2 separate regions of the Homo sapiens genome follow, and region 1 is linked to region 2. The links are contacts of gene promoters, found by promoter capture Hi-C in human tissues and cell types (Jung and others, 2019). All regions are on one chromosome and are shown on one strand. Each heading gives the region's core, a stretch centred on a gene start or on the middle of the fragment in contact. The rest is flanking DNA. Distances are from core to core; before and after follow the strand shown.

What was found. The method cuts DNA at HindIII sites, captures the fragments that hold promoters and counts their contacts. A contact is called where the count stands out against the background at its distance.
Region 1: a contact is called between the fragment with the promoter of CLIC3 here and a fragment that was not itself captured in region 2, in 1 of the 25 tissues and cell types used here (dorsolateral prefrontal cortex).

What each region holds. Positions count from the first base shown.
Region 1 is chr9:136,994,233-137,000,539 of GRCh38, forward strand. It overlaps CLIC3 (chloride intracellular channel 3), which reads right to left and starts at 2,336. Exons shown (of 6, transcript NM_004669.3): 1 at 2,279-2,336; 2 at 1,416-1,525; 3 at 1,210-1,335; 4 at 954-1,060; 5 at 698-873; 6 at 376-607. The coding sequence starts at 2,311. The coding sequence ends at 449. RefSeq lists an enhancer at 5,934-6,053. The HindIII fragment of the contact is 25,713 bases long and covers 1-6,307 here.
Region 2 is chr9:136,703,894-136,710,333 of GRCh38, forward strand. No RefSeq gene overlaps it. Among named protein-coding and RNA genes, the nearest start is that of DIPK1B, 5.5 kb to the right of the region's middle. The HindIII fragment of the contact is 6,599 bases long and covers 1-5,419 here.

The DNA of each region.
Region 1 (6,307 bases), core at 1,086-3,585, 290 kb after region 2:
CACCCTCCCAGGCCGCACCCAGGTAGGGCACGGAGCCCCGTGGGAGGATGCAGACAGAAGTCCCGTGTAGACCCTGAGACACTGGAAGTGCCCTGCGGGGAGGGGAGCGCCTGCCCCGGGACAGGATTGAGGAATGTGCCAGCCCCCATCCACCTGGGGCACCCCGCCCCACCCCGGCCTGACTGGTTTGGGAGCCCAGTCCGGTCCTGGAGATCCCTGAGGCCACCGGTTGCAGGAGGCCTGGAGTCTGCGCCTTCTTAGCGTGGAGGATGGGACCGGCCCGACCCCCGGCGCTCCTGCCCCTGTGGTTCTGGGCTATCGGGCTGAGCGTCCCACCCTGGGGTTTGGGGATGGGAAGTGATCCCGAGACCTCTGGCCCTTCAGATGTCAGGACACCCTCACTCCCGACAAAGATGCCTTTATTGGGCGACAGACGCGGGGTGGGGCGCTAGCGGGGGTGCACGGCGGGCCGGTAGGCCGCCAGGATCTCGGCGCTGTGCGGACACGTGTATTTGAACTCTTTCTCCTGCATCGCGCTGTCCAGGTAGCGGCGTACGCCGCGCAGCTCCGCGGGGATGGGCGCCTGGCGGAAGTGCGCGCACACCGTCTGCGGGCAGGATCGCGGGGCGCGGTCAGGACCTGCCGTCCCCCAGGCGCGCCGCGGTCACCCTCCCGCCCGCCCACCTTCCGTGCTCACGTCGACGATGTGCAGCTTGGGCAGGAGGCTGCAGTCGGCCAGCGTGAGCCTGTCGCCGTCCAGGAAGCGGCGGCGGGACTCGCGCAGCTGCGGCTCCCCCGCCAGCTCGTGCTCCAGGGGCGCGCGCAGGTAGCTGTCCAGCCTGGCGAGGGCGCGCAGCAGCTGCTGGTACAGGGCTAGGGGGCAGGCGGCGCGGTGAGGACCAGGCCCAGGGCGCCCTCCCGCCTGGGCACCCGACCCCCTGACCCCGCTTCACCTTCGTCCTGCGCGGGCACCGGGTTCTTGATGAACGCGGAGAACTTGTGGAAAACGTCGTTGCCGGCGGTGTTGGACTCCCTGTAACGAGGCGCCAGGCTGGGGAAGCTGCGGGATGAGGGGGTGGGACTCCATTAGACTGGGGGCAGCCCCGTCCCGGCCCCACAGTACCCCCACAGCGCCTTCCTGGGCTCTGTCTTGCGCGCGTCCTCCCTGGGCCCCCCTCTTTTCCCCTCCCACCCTGCCGGGGCTCTCACTCGGGCGGCCCCAGCGTCTCCTCCAGAAAGTCCTCGATCTGCAGCGTGTCTGTCTTGGCGTCGCTGTCATAGAGCAGGATGGGCAGCTGCGAGCCGGGGGCGAAGTCCTTCAGCACGTCCGGGGACCTGCGGGCAGCAGCGGGGTGGGAGGAGGCCGGCCCACCAGTGTGCGAGGCCAGGCGGGGGTCCACAGGATGGGGCCTCACCTGCGCGTGTCCACCGTGGTGAGGGTGAAAGGTACGCCCTTGAGGAGCAGGACCATGAAGAGCCGCTGGCAGGAGGGGCAGTGACCCACGCTCTCCCCGTCCTCACTCGCCTGGGTGGGTGGAGCGGGGGTGGGGGGTCAGGGCTGGAAGCAGACCCAGGCATCCTGCCGCCAGGCTGGGCGGGACCCGCCTCCCACTGCCAGTGGGATTGGAGGGACGCCAGGGCTCCAGCTTGGTCGGCGCGACTTCCAAGTGCCCAGTGAGGGCCCTTGACTTGGTCCCCAGAACGTGGGGAGGGGGGCAGAGCTGCTGGGAGCCTTGAGGCCTGGGGCAGGCTTGGCCCCTGGAATCTTGTCAGAGCCTGGACAGAGGCCAGGCCCCTGGGCTCAGTCCCCAAAAGCTGGTTGCAGGGGTGGGGTGGGCCTCACAAGCTGTTTTCTGAGTGATTCACACATGAGACTGGGCACTGTGGCCAACAGCACATCAGTCCCCCACCCCAGTCCCCGACCTGAGAGCTGATGGGGCTGCCTGGCCCAGCACCCCCCATCCTGGAACACCGACCGTAAGCTCCACTGTTGGCAGCCTGCTTGGTACCTCCCCACCAAGGAGCTCTCCTCCAGAAGACTGGGCTGGGCCCAGGAGCCAAGGCTGGGAGCAGGACCAGGGCCACTGACCCCTCTCTGGGTGACTCGCTGGGTCCCACTTTACTCAGCCTCTGTAGGGCTGCCTGAGTCCCCCTAGCCACCCACAGGAAGGGGCTCAGACATTACTGGGAGGCCCACCCCACAGCCTGCCACAGAAAGCAAAGCCCAGAAAAGCGCTTCCTCCCAGACACCCTCCCCGCAGCTGAGTCCGCCCTGCACCTTGACAAACAGCTGGAGCTTGGTCTCCGCCATGGTGGGAGCTGCCGCGGTCAGGCGCGGGTGGGGACCTGGGGAGCTCTTTAAGTCTCCCTGTGCGCCCCGCCCTCCCTGGCCGAGGGGCCCGCCCCGTGGAGCCACCTAGGCGGGCAGATGAAGCTGCCCAGCGCGCAGAACCAGCTGCCTGAGCAACGCCAGCCCGGCCCCGGGGTGTCTGAGCCTGAGGGTGTGACCTCAGGGTGGCGGAATGGTGTGGGGGGCTGCCCTGGACTTGAGTCTGGTGTGCACGGAGATCCGCCCACCCGGTACTGAGTGTGCTGGGAGCCAGCGTGGTGGGTGGAGACCAGGGGGCAGGGCATAGGGAGAGCCTACAGGCCAGAAGGGTGCAGGGGGTGTCACCTGGGAAGGGGGCGGCTCTGGGTCAGGACCACCTCCACCGTGAACCCAGCTCAGACCCTGCCCTATGGCTCTCCCTTCCGCAAATACCCCTTGTCAGGGCTCCCAGCCCAGAAAGCCAGTGGGTGTGGGTGAGCAGGAGAAATGGCCTGCCCAGCCTGGCTTCAGTTCCCCATCTGCAGCACCAGGGCATCGGGAGGGTGATAAGCCCACCTGGGGGAGCCGCCCCTTCCCAGCTACGGAGCAGTCAGGCAGGGCCCTCCCCGCTCAGGGCAGGGCTCAAATTCCAGACCTGCCCGCAACAGGGCGGGGAGGCCAGCCTGGCTTTGGTGTTTGGCCGGCAGTGCAGGTCTCCACCCCACCTCCCATCCCTCCCACTGGCGCTCAGCGCAGGTTTCTTACCCCCAACCCCTTAACCTTTAAAAAGAAGCAGCAGGAGAGGGGTTAGAAGCCACAGCCTGCGTGGCTGGAAGAAAGAGGCCAGGGGAGGGTGGTGGTCCACAGGTGTGAGCCTGCGCTGAGCCTCCTGGCGTGATTGGAACCCACAGTTCAGTCTGGCCCTTTGGGGTCGCCAACTGTGCCTTCCTCCCACCTGGCCCTGACGCTTTAGGGTGCAGCCCCAGGGAGGTACACCGAGGGGAGATTCCACCCAGAGACCTGGGGTGCCCACAGGATTGGCCTGGCCACACCTCCCCCAGGCGGTGTGGTGCCTCACCAGCCTGGACAGGGCAGCTGAGGTGGCACTGCTCTCCTGCTCACCTTCTCCCCAGGGCCTTGGTACGGGCCCCTCATCCGTCCCCGGTGGAACACACTCCAGTGCTGCCCCAGTCAGCCCAGCCTGATGCTTCTCTGGATACCACGCCAGTCGGGGCTCCTGGACACAGAGCCTTGGAAATACCATGTGGCTGCCCCATCCTTTGGTGTCCTGAACCTCAATTTCCCTCCATCCGGCCTCCACCTCGATTCCAAGCCCTAGTATTTCAGCTCTTTCTGGACACTGTGGTTATAGCTCCGCTTGCTGGTTTCCCACATCCCTGGCAGGCAAATGGCCAACCACAGAGAAGCCCCAGGCCCCCAGCCCCCTCTGCTGCCCCGGCATCCTGTGTCTTTAACACCGACAGACGCACCCTCACAAACCCACAGGAAAAATGACGGCACGGACAGAGGCCGTGAACCGGTGGCTCAGAAGGAAAAAGAAAACAAGACACAGGAAGACCATTCACCTCACGCCCGTCTCAAGAAACAAACCAACAAGACTCGGTTCACCGCTGCAGCGGCCCCACTGCGTTCTGTGGGCGTGGGCTGTGGACTGTGGAGCGGCAGTGGCCATCCAACACCCCCCTGTGCCCTCGCCACCTGGGAATCAGCCCGGTGGCTTCCTTTTTTTTTTATGGTTTAATCAATTCATTTATTTACTAGAAACAGGGTCCTGCCATGTTGCCCAGGCTGGTCTCCACCTCATGGGCTCAAGTGACCCACCTGCCTTGGTCTCCCACAGTGCTGGAACTACAGGCGCGAGCTGCCACACCCGGCCGGTTTCCCTGTGAAGGGCAAGTGAGTGCTGGCTGCCCCACTGCGTGGCGTGGCGTGGCGTGGCGTGGCTCCGTGGCACGGCCACCACCCTGTCTATGGGAGACTCCAGTTGTGTCCAGGGAGAAGGACGGAAAAGGTGACTCCATGCATGCCCACTGCAGGGAGGGCCTGAGATTAGGTAAATGGCGTGGCTTGTGTCCCCTTAAATTTAAATTCTTAGGCTGGAGTCCTAACCCCTAGTGCCTCAGAATGTGACCTTATATGGGCCGGGCACGGTGACTCATGCCTGTAATCCCAGCAGTCTGGGAGGCCGAGGGGGGTGGATCACCTGAGGTCAGGAGTTTGAGACCAGCCTGACCAACATGGTGAAACCCCGTCTCTACTAAAAATACAAAAATTAGCCAGGCATAGTGGCAGGCACCTGTAATCCCAGCTACTCGGGAAGCTGAGGCAGGAGAAGTGCTTGAACCCGGGAGACAGAGTTGCAGTGAGCAGAGATAGTGCCACTGCATTCCAGCCTGGGCAACAGAGCAAGACTCCATCTTGGAAAAAAAATAAAGAATGTGACCTTATGTGGAAACAGGGGCTTTTTAACATTTTTTTTGAGACAGAGTCTTGCTCTGTTGCCCAGGCTGGAATGCAGTGGTGCAATCTCGGCTCACTGCAACTTCTGCCTCCTGGGTTCAAGCAATTCTACTTTCTCAGCCTCTGGAGTAGCTGGGATTACAGGTACACGTCACCACGCTGAGCTTTTTTTTTTTTTCCTTGTATTTGTAGTAGAGACAGGGTTTCACCATGTTGATCAGGCTGGTCTCGAACTCCTGACCTCAGAAGATCTACCCACCTTGGCCTCCCAAAATGCTGGGAATACAGGTGTGAGCCACCGCACCCGGCTGAAATAGGGTCTTTATAGAAGTTATCAAGTTAAAATGTGGTGAGTAGGATGTGCCCTGATCCAATATGACTGATGTCAGTATAGAAAGGCGAGTTTGGACACAGATGCACAGGGAGGGCCGCAGGCAGAAATCAGGGTGGCACATCTGTAAGCCTGGGAGCCAAGCGGATGCTCTCCAAGGCCCTTGGGAGGAAGCAGCCCTGCCCAAGCCTAGGTGCTATGTCTGACCTCCAGACTGCTAGGCAGTGAGCTTCTGTTTTTTTTGTTTTTTTTTTTTAATGAGATGCAGTCTTGCTCTGTCGCCCAGGCTGGAGTGCAGTGGCACAATCTCGGCTCACTGCAAGTTCTGCCTCCCCAGGTTCACGCCATTCTCCTGTCTCAGCCTCCCAAGTAGCTGGGACTACAGGCGCCCGCTACCACACCTGGCTAATTTTTGTATTTTTAGTAGAGACGGGGTTTCACTGCGTTAGCCAGGATGGTCTCGATCTCCTGACCTCGTGATCCGCTCGCCTCGGCCTCCCAAAGTGCTGGGATTACAGGCGTGAGCTCCCGCGCCCCGCGGTGTTGTTGTTTTAAGATGGAGTCTCACTGTCACCCAGGCTGGAGTGCAATGGCTCAATCTCGGCTCATTGCAACCCGCGCCTCACCGGCTGAAGCGATTCTCCTGCCCCAGCCTCCCGAGTAGCTGGGATTACAGGCGCCCACCACCACGCCTGGCTAATTTTTGTATTTTTAGTAGAGACGGGGTTTCACCATGTTGGTCAGGCTGGTCTCAAACTCCTGACCTCAAGTGATCCGCCCACCTCGGCCTCCCAAAGTCAGTTTCTGTTGTTTTAAACCCCTCACTTTGTGGTCCTTTGCATGGCAGCGCCAGCAAGCTAATAAGTAAAGCAGGGAGAAGCCAGGAAATGGAAGAAAATCAGCATTAGGATCTGTCATTCTGAGTCTCTACTTGAACAGAGCTGAAAAAAGACGCAAGGAGCTGTCTGTGGGATGACCCCTGACAGGCAGAAACAGGCTTTCAGTTTTGCTTCCTGTCTGTCCACACTGTTTGCATTTTCTACCACATTTTTGTAATACCACATTTTCTACCACAATTTCATAATGTTTTGAAGTAAGAACAGTATCACAGCCACTAACCTTAACTAGACCCTGGTCCCCGAGGCCACGGGGTTATCCCTAAACCTCCCGTCCCCTGCAGCCCCTGC
Region 2 (6,440 bases), core at 870-3,369:
CGGGGTGGGGGTCTCTTCTTTTTTTTTTTTGAGATGGAGTTTCGCTCTTGTTGCCCAGGTTGGAGTGTAATGGCGCAATCTTGGCTCACTGCAACCTCCGCCTCCCGGGTTCAAGTGACTCTCCTGCCCCAGCCTCCCGAGTAGCTGGGATTACAGGTGCCCGCCACCACCCCAGGCTGATTTTTGTATTTTTAGTAGAGACGGGGTTTCACCATGTTGGCCAGGCCGATCTCGAACTCCTGACCTCAGGTGATTCACCTGCCTCGGCCTCCCAAAGTGCTGGGATTACAGGCTTGAGGCCCCGTGCCCGGCCAGGGGTCTCCTTTATAAAGGCCCTGATCTCATTCATGAGAACTCCACCCTTATGACCTTGTCACCTCCCAAAGGCACCACCTCCCAAAACCATCTATATTAGTCCATTCTCACATGGGTACAAAGAAATACCTGAGACTGGGTAATTTAGAAAGAAAAGAGGTTGAATTGGCCCACAGTTCCTCAGACTGTACAGAAAGCATAGCGGCTTCTGCTTTTGGGGAGGCCTCAGGAAACATCATCGTGGCAGAAGGTGAAGGGGACACAGGTGTGTCCTACGTGGCTGGAGCAGGAGGAAGAGGCACCACTGAATTTTATTTATTTATATTTATCTATTTATTTATTTTGAGATGAGTTTTGCTCTTGTCACCCAGGCTGGAGTGCAGTGACACGATCTTGACTCACTGCAACCCCTGCTTCCCAGGTTCAAGCGATTCTTCTGCCTCAGCCTCCCGAGTAGCTGGGACTACATGCACCTGCCACCATGCGTGGCTAATTTCTGTATTTTTGGTAGAGAAGGACTTTCACCATGGTGGCCAGGCTGGTCTGGAACTCCTGACCTCAGGTGATCTGCCCGCCTCGGCCTCCCAAAAGGCTGGGATTACAGGCGTGAGCCACCATGCCCTGCCCGGCTAGATTAAAGTTGTTTAAAGCAAAATAAGGAGCAGTCATTGCCTGAGGCCGTCTCTGTACTGGGAGTTCCCACTAACCAACAACAACTTTATTCAGTAGTTTGTTAACAGATAGCCAGGTTTCAACCAATCAATCACGGGCAGCCAACCAATCAGACCACACCCAAATAAGGCAAAGGTCTTGAGTTATTTCTTTTCTTTTTTTTTTCTTTTTCTTTTTTTTTTTTTTTTTTGAGACAGAGTCATGCTCTGTTGCTCAGGCTGGAGTGCAGTGGTGTGATCTCGGCTCACTGCAACCTCCGCCTCCTGGGTTCAAGCGATTCTCCTGCCTCAGCCTCCCGATTAGCTGGGATTACAGGTGCACACCACCATGCCCAGCTAATTTTTGTATTTTTAGTAAAGACGGGGTTTCACCATGTTGGCCAGGCTGGTCTTGAACTCCTGACCTCATGTGATCTGCCTGCCTCGGCCTCCCAAACTGCTGGGATTACAGGTGTGAGCCACGGTGCCTAGCCTGGCCTTGAGTTATTTCCGTACTTCACTTCCACATTCAGCCTGTAAAAGCCTGCTGCTCACACTGCTAAGACAGAGCTCCCAGAGCCTCTTCCACCTTTGAGTGCTGCCTGATTCATGCCTCCTTTAATGCTCAAATCAACTCTGTTACATCTATTTTGTCTAAAGTAGGAAGAATCCTCAAATAAGATTGCCACTGGGACACCAAGCTCGAGTTGGCCAAATGGTGCAAACTCCACAGATCCAGCTGAAAACAACATGGCAATGGCTACTAAGCCATGGGGCTCCCAAAACTGAAGTAGATGGGTCAGCTGTGAGAAGCTCACTGCCTGGTACGGAGCATTGGATGGATTGAAAATCATGGAACAGTCCCTGGCTGAGTCATGAGCCGTTGCCACGCTGCCTGAAAATAAACGCAGAACCTTGTTCATGGACTTCCTCCTTCCACCTCTCACCCCCCTCCACTTACGTTAGGAAGAAAGATGATTAGAGGTTCCCAGGCCGTGGGCACCATCCAAGTGTGCTGGAGAACTTGGAGGAGAAGAAGAACTCAAACTTTATGGCTCTGTCGGATATGAGTAGCCCACATCACTCTCCTGTTTGGACCAGTGGAAGGAAAAGTTCTCTGGATTCCGCTCACCGGATTTGTGCACGGTTTGAAATGGGGAGTGAAGGCTGATGTGATCTTGTGGGTGTGGCATTTTGGGCCAATTCGATGCCCTGTTTTTGATGCTTCTATGTGTGTGTTGCCGCGTAGGAGCTGTGTTTCATCCCCATACTTCCATCCTGTACGTGCCAGAGGGGACTCTCCCTATTGGCAAGCACTGAATGCAGAGAAGGGCCAGTGGGATGTGTGAATCTCTCTGCAACCCGCTTTCAGGGCGGGTACAGAATCCCAGAAGCGGTACAGAATCCCAGAGGGAAAAAGGCGCATCAGAGGTTTGATTGAGGGATTAAGGGCAGTAGGGGGACTAAGAGATGAAATATGGGGCTGGGCGTGGTGGCTCACGCCTGTAATCCCAGCACTTTGAGAGACTGAGGCCGGTAGATCACTTGACACCAGGAGTTAGAGACCAGCCTGGTCAACATGGTGAAACCCCGTCTCTACTAAAAATACAAAAAAATTAGCCAGGTGTGGTGGCGGGCACCTATAGTCCCAGCTATTCGGGAGGCTGAGGCATAAGAATCCCTTGAACCCATCACTTGAACCCGGGAGGTGGAGGTTGCAGTGAGCCGAGATCGTGCCACTGCACTCCAGCCTGGACAACAGGGTGAGAGTCTGCCTCAAAAAAATAAAGGCTGGTCGTGGTGGCTCAAGCTTCTAATCCCAGCACTTTGGGAAGCCGAGGCGGGTGAATCATCTGAGGTCAGGAGTTCAAGACCAGCCTGGCCAACATGGAGAAACCCAGTCTCTACTAAAACTACAAAAATTAGCTGGGCATAGTGGCGGGCCCCTATAGTTCCAGCTACTCGCGAGGCTGAGGCAGGAGAATCATGTGAACCCAGGAGGCAGAGGCTGCAGTGAGCCGAGATCACGCCACTGCACTCCAGCCTGGGTGACAATCACTGGGTGACACTCCGTGTCAAAAAAAAAAAAAAGAGATGAAATATGGCAACACAACATCCCTGAGTGGCCAGTGGAGCAGGTAAGAGCTGCTGGTGGCTGACAGTGGATTACCACCAACAGAAGTCAGCCATTGCTCCCAGAGCCCTAGCTGTCCTACACACTGTGACCATACCGAGCCCATCACGTGGGCTCCGGGTACTTGGTACACTGTCTTGGATCCTGCCAATGCCTTTTTGCCACACCACTGGCAGGGGAGGAGCAAGACCAGCTTGCATTCACATGGCCAGGTCTCCAATACACTTAGGTGTGTTCCCCGTACACGCCCCGCCACTGGCCACCTGTGGGCAGGTTAGGACTTCTGATGTCCACAGGTGCCATGATACAGATGATGTCCTGCAGGTTGGCAGCTCAGAAGCCTTGGGTCTCTAGAACTAGACAACTAGACGGGGGTACTCTCATACCTCCCTGTCCACAGAGGCAGGCAAAACATCAACAGCGTCCAGTGGCTGCCTCACCAGGTGGAGTTTCTTGGGATGAGGTAGGTGGAGGTGGGTCCACAGCACTCACTGCCTCAGCCAGTCAAGGAAAACCTGTTGTCTCTTTGCTCCCTCATCTCACCCAAAAGGACAACCCAGCACTTGATTGGACTGTGTGGGTGTTGGAGACAGGATGTGCTTCATTTGGGCATTCGACTTGGCTTCTTAAATTAGTGAATCCAGGTCGGGCGAGGTGGCTCACGCCGGTAATCCCAGAACTTTGGGAGGCCGAGGGGGGTGGACCACCTGAGGTCAGGAATTTGAGACCAGCCTGGCCAACATAGCAAAACCCTGTCTCTACTAAAAATATAAAAATTAGCCAGACGTGGTGGTGTGTGCCCGTAATCCCAGCTACTCGGGAGGCCGAGGCAGGAGAATCGCTTGCACCTGGGAGGTGGAGGTTGCAGTGAGCCGAGATCACACCACTACATTCCAGCCTGGGCAACAGAGTAAGACTTGGTATCAAAAAAATAATAATATAAATAAAATAAATTAGTGAACCCACAAATCAGCCTGCTTACGTCAGGGCCTGAACCAACAGGCTATTCCAGCTGCCGCCCCGTGAGCCACAGGCCACTCTCTCTCCCGCTGGGGCCTCACAGCCCTGTGATCCCTTTGAACGACAAGTCCCTGTGGCTGACGATCCCGTTATCTGGAAACTCCAGAGAAAGAAAACAGCCTCTGCCCAGATGTGCCCCTTGGGGTGGTGGATTCACTGACTCTCTGACACGACTACTAGGTTCACCCCTTGTTTTCAAAAAGCAAAATTAGCTTACAACGAGCTCTTGTCCCAGTGAACCACCTGACCACGGAGGCCTTGTGACTGGAGCCTGACAGTCCCATTCGGAGGGTTTTCAACTCAGACACAACCACCACAAGGAAGGAGGGCCCTAGAGCTTCTCTTTGCAAACAGAAGACTCTGTATTCAACAGCAGCGGGCGGGTCCCCGGTGATATGTCAGCTTCTCATCGGAAGTGGCAGCTCTCCCTTTGGGGGAAACTTGACGCGCCGCACTCCACCGTCTGAGGGAAAGCTCGTGGCTCTCCAGGGCCCTCGATCCACCAGGGCCCCCTAAACGGCTGCTCACCTGGTGTGCTCACCGGCTTGCTGTCAATAAATACGTGGGTAAATCTCTGTTCGAGGCTCTCAGCTCTGAAGGCTGTGAGACCCGATTTCCTATTTCACACCTCTATATTTCTCTGTGTGTGTCTTTAATTCCTCTAACGCCGCTCGGATAGGGTCTCCCTGACTGAGCTGGTCTCAGCACGTCTCTACTAAAAATACAAAAAAAGGCCAGGCGTGGTGGCTCACGCCTGTAATCCCAGCACTTTGGGAGGCCGAAGCGGGCGGATCACGAGGTCAGGAGATCGAGACCATCCTGGCTAACACAGTGAAACTCCGTCTCTACTAAAAATACAAAAAATTAGCTGGGCGCCGTGGCAGGCGCCTGTAGTCCCAGCTACTCGGGAGGCTGAGGCAGGAGAAAGGCGTGAACCCAGGAGGCGGAGCTTGCAGTGAGCTGAGATTGCCCCACTGCACTCCAACCTGGGCAACGGAGCGAGACTCTATCTCAAAAAAAAGGTCTGGGTGTGAGTAGGGGATGCCTGGGGAAGAGACGCAGTTATAGCAGTTGGAATGGGACATGCCAGTTTTGCAGCAGGGCAGGGAGAGCAATGGGCCCCCTGCTTGGGGAGGAAACTCCCAGGCCTCAGGACGAATGGGAAGGAAAGACAGGGCAGGAAGGTCCTCCACTTTCAGAATTGTCCCCGGAGCCTGCCCCGAAGGTGTGTGTGATCCTGTGTCTCTGCGTCTGTGTCTGTGCAGTGGACCTTTCGTTTACCTGTCGTTTGCCCTGGCCAGGGTTTGAGCTCAGGGCCTCAGGCCACGAAAGGCCCTAGAAACAGCAAGGCACGGCCCAGTTCCCGCCCCCACACCTGAGATACCAGTCAGCACCTCCCGGGTCCTCTGCCCCATTCATGTTCCAGGCAGGTGGATGTCACCCATTGGTGGCGTAGAAACAAGGGCCCCAAAACGAGAACTAGACCCATTCAAACTGAACTGGAACCCGGCCAGTGCCCATTCCATGAACACTTGATGGGCTAGTGGCCACGGACAGTGTGCAGGTTCTGGGCCAGGCCTGCAGATGCAAAGGAGAACGTGGTCACTGGTCCCTGCCTGGAGGGAGCACCGCGTCCCGCGGGCCCTGCTGGGAAATGCCTTTTTGGAAGATCTCGGGGACAGGGTCACCCAGGGCCGGCTATGCGCTCACCAGGCACTCCTCCCAGGGCGGGCCATCTCCCTCCTGGCAGCCTGGGAGTGGCACTGAGGCTGCGCTCATCCTTCTCATGGCCCACACCTTCCCCAGATCCTGACCCACGGATCACGCTCTCCTGCGCCCCTCCCCCAGGAAGCCCTCCTCGGGAGACCCTCCAGAACTTTCTTGGCCGCGGTCTTGGCCTGGCTCACATTGACGGAAGGTGTGGGCTCCTGCACCCTCCAGCTGAGCTCCCTGCAGGCCGGACCGACCACCACTGCCCTGCACCCACTCCCCCTGGCCCTGGGACAGCCCTCCTGCAGGAGGAGGACAGGCCATGCAGGGAAGCACATGCTCTCCCAGCTGTAAACATGGCAAGGCCTCCCTCCAGGCCGGGAGAAGCCTACGTGTTGGCCTCTTGGTGCTTGTGCTCTGTGTCCCACCCTCTCGTACTGCTCTTCCCTTTCTTGGGCTCCGGGACCCTCGCTGGCAGAGAGACAGTGCTTGGATCGAGGGAGAGAGGAAAGGTCACTTGGGGACATGGCAGTCCCTCTTCCCAGCCTGGGCTACGGCTACCTTGGGGGTCACTGAGACTGGGAGGGTCTGCCTGCTACTTTCTCCCACTG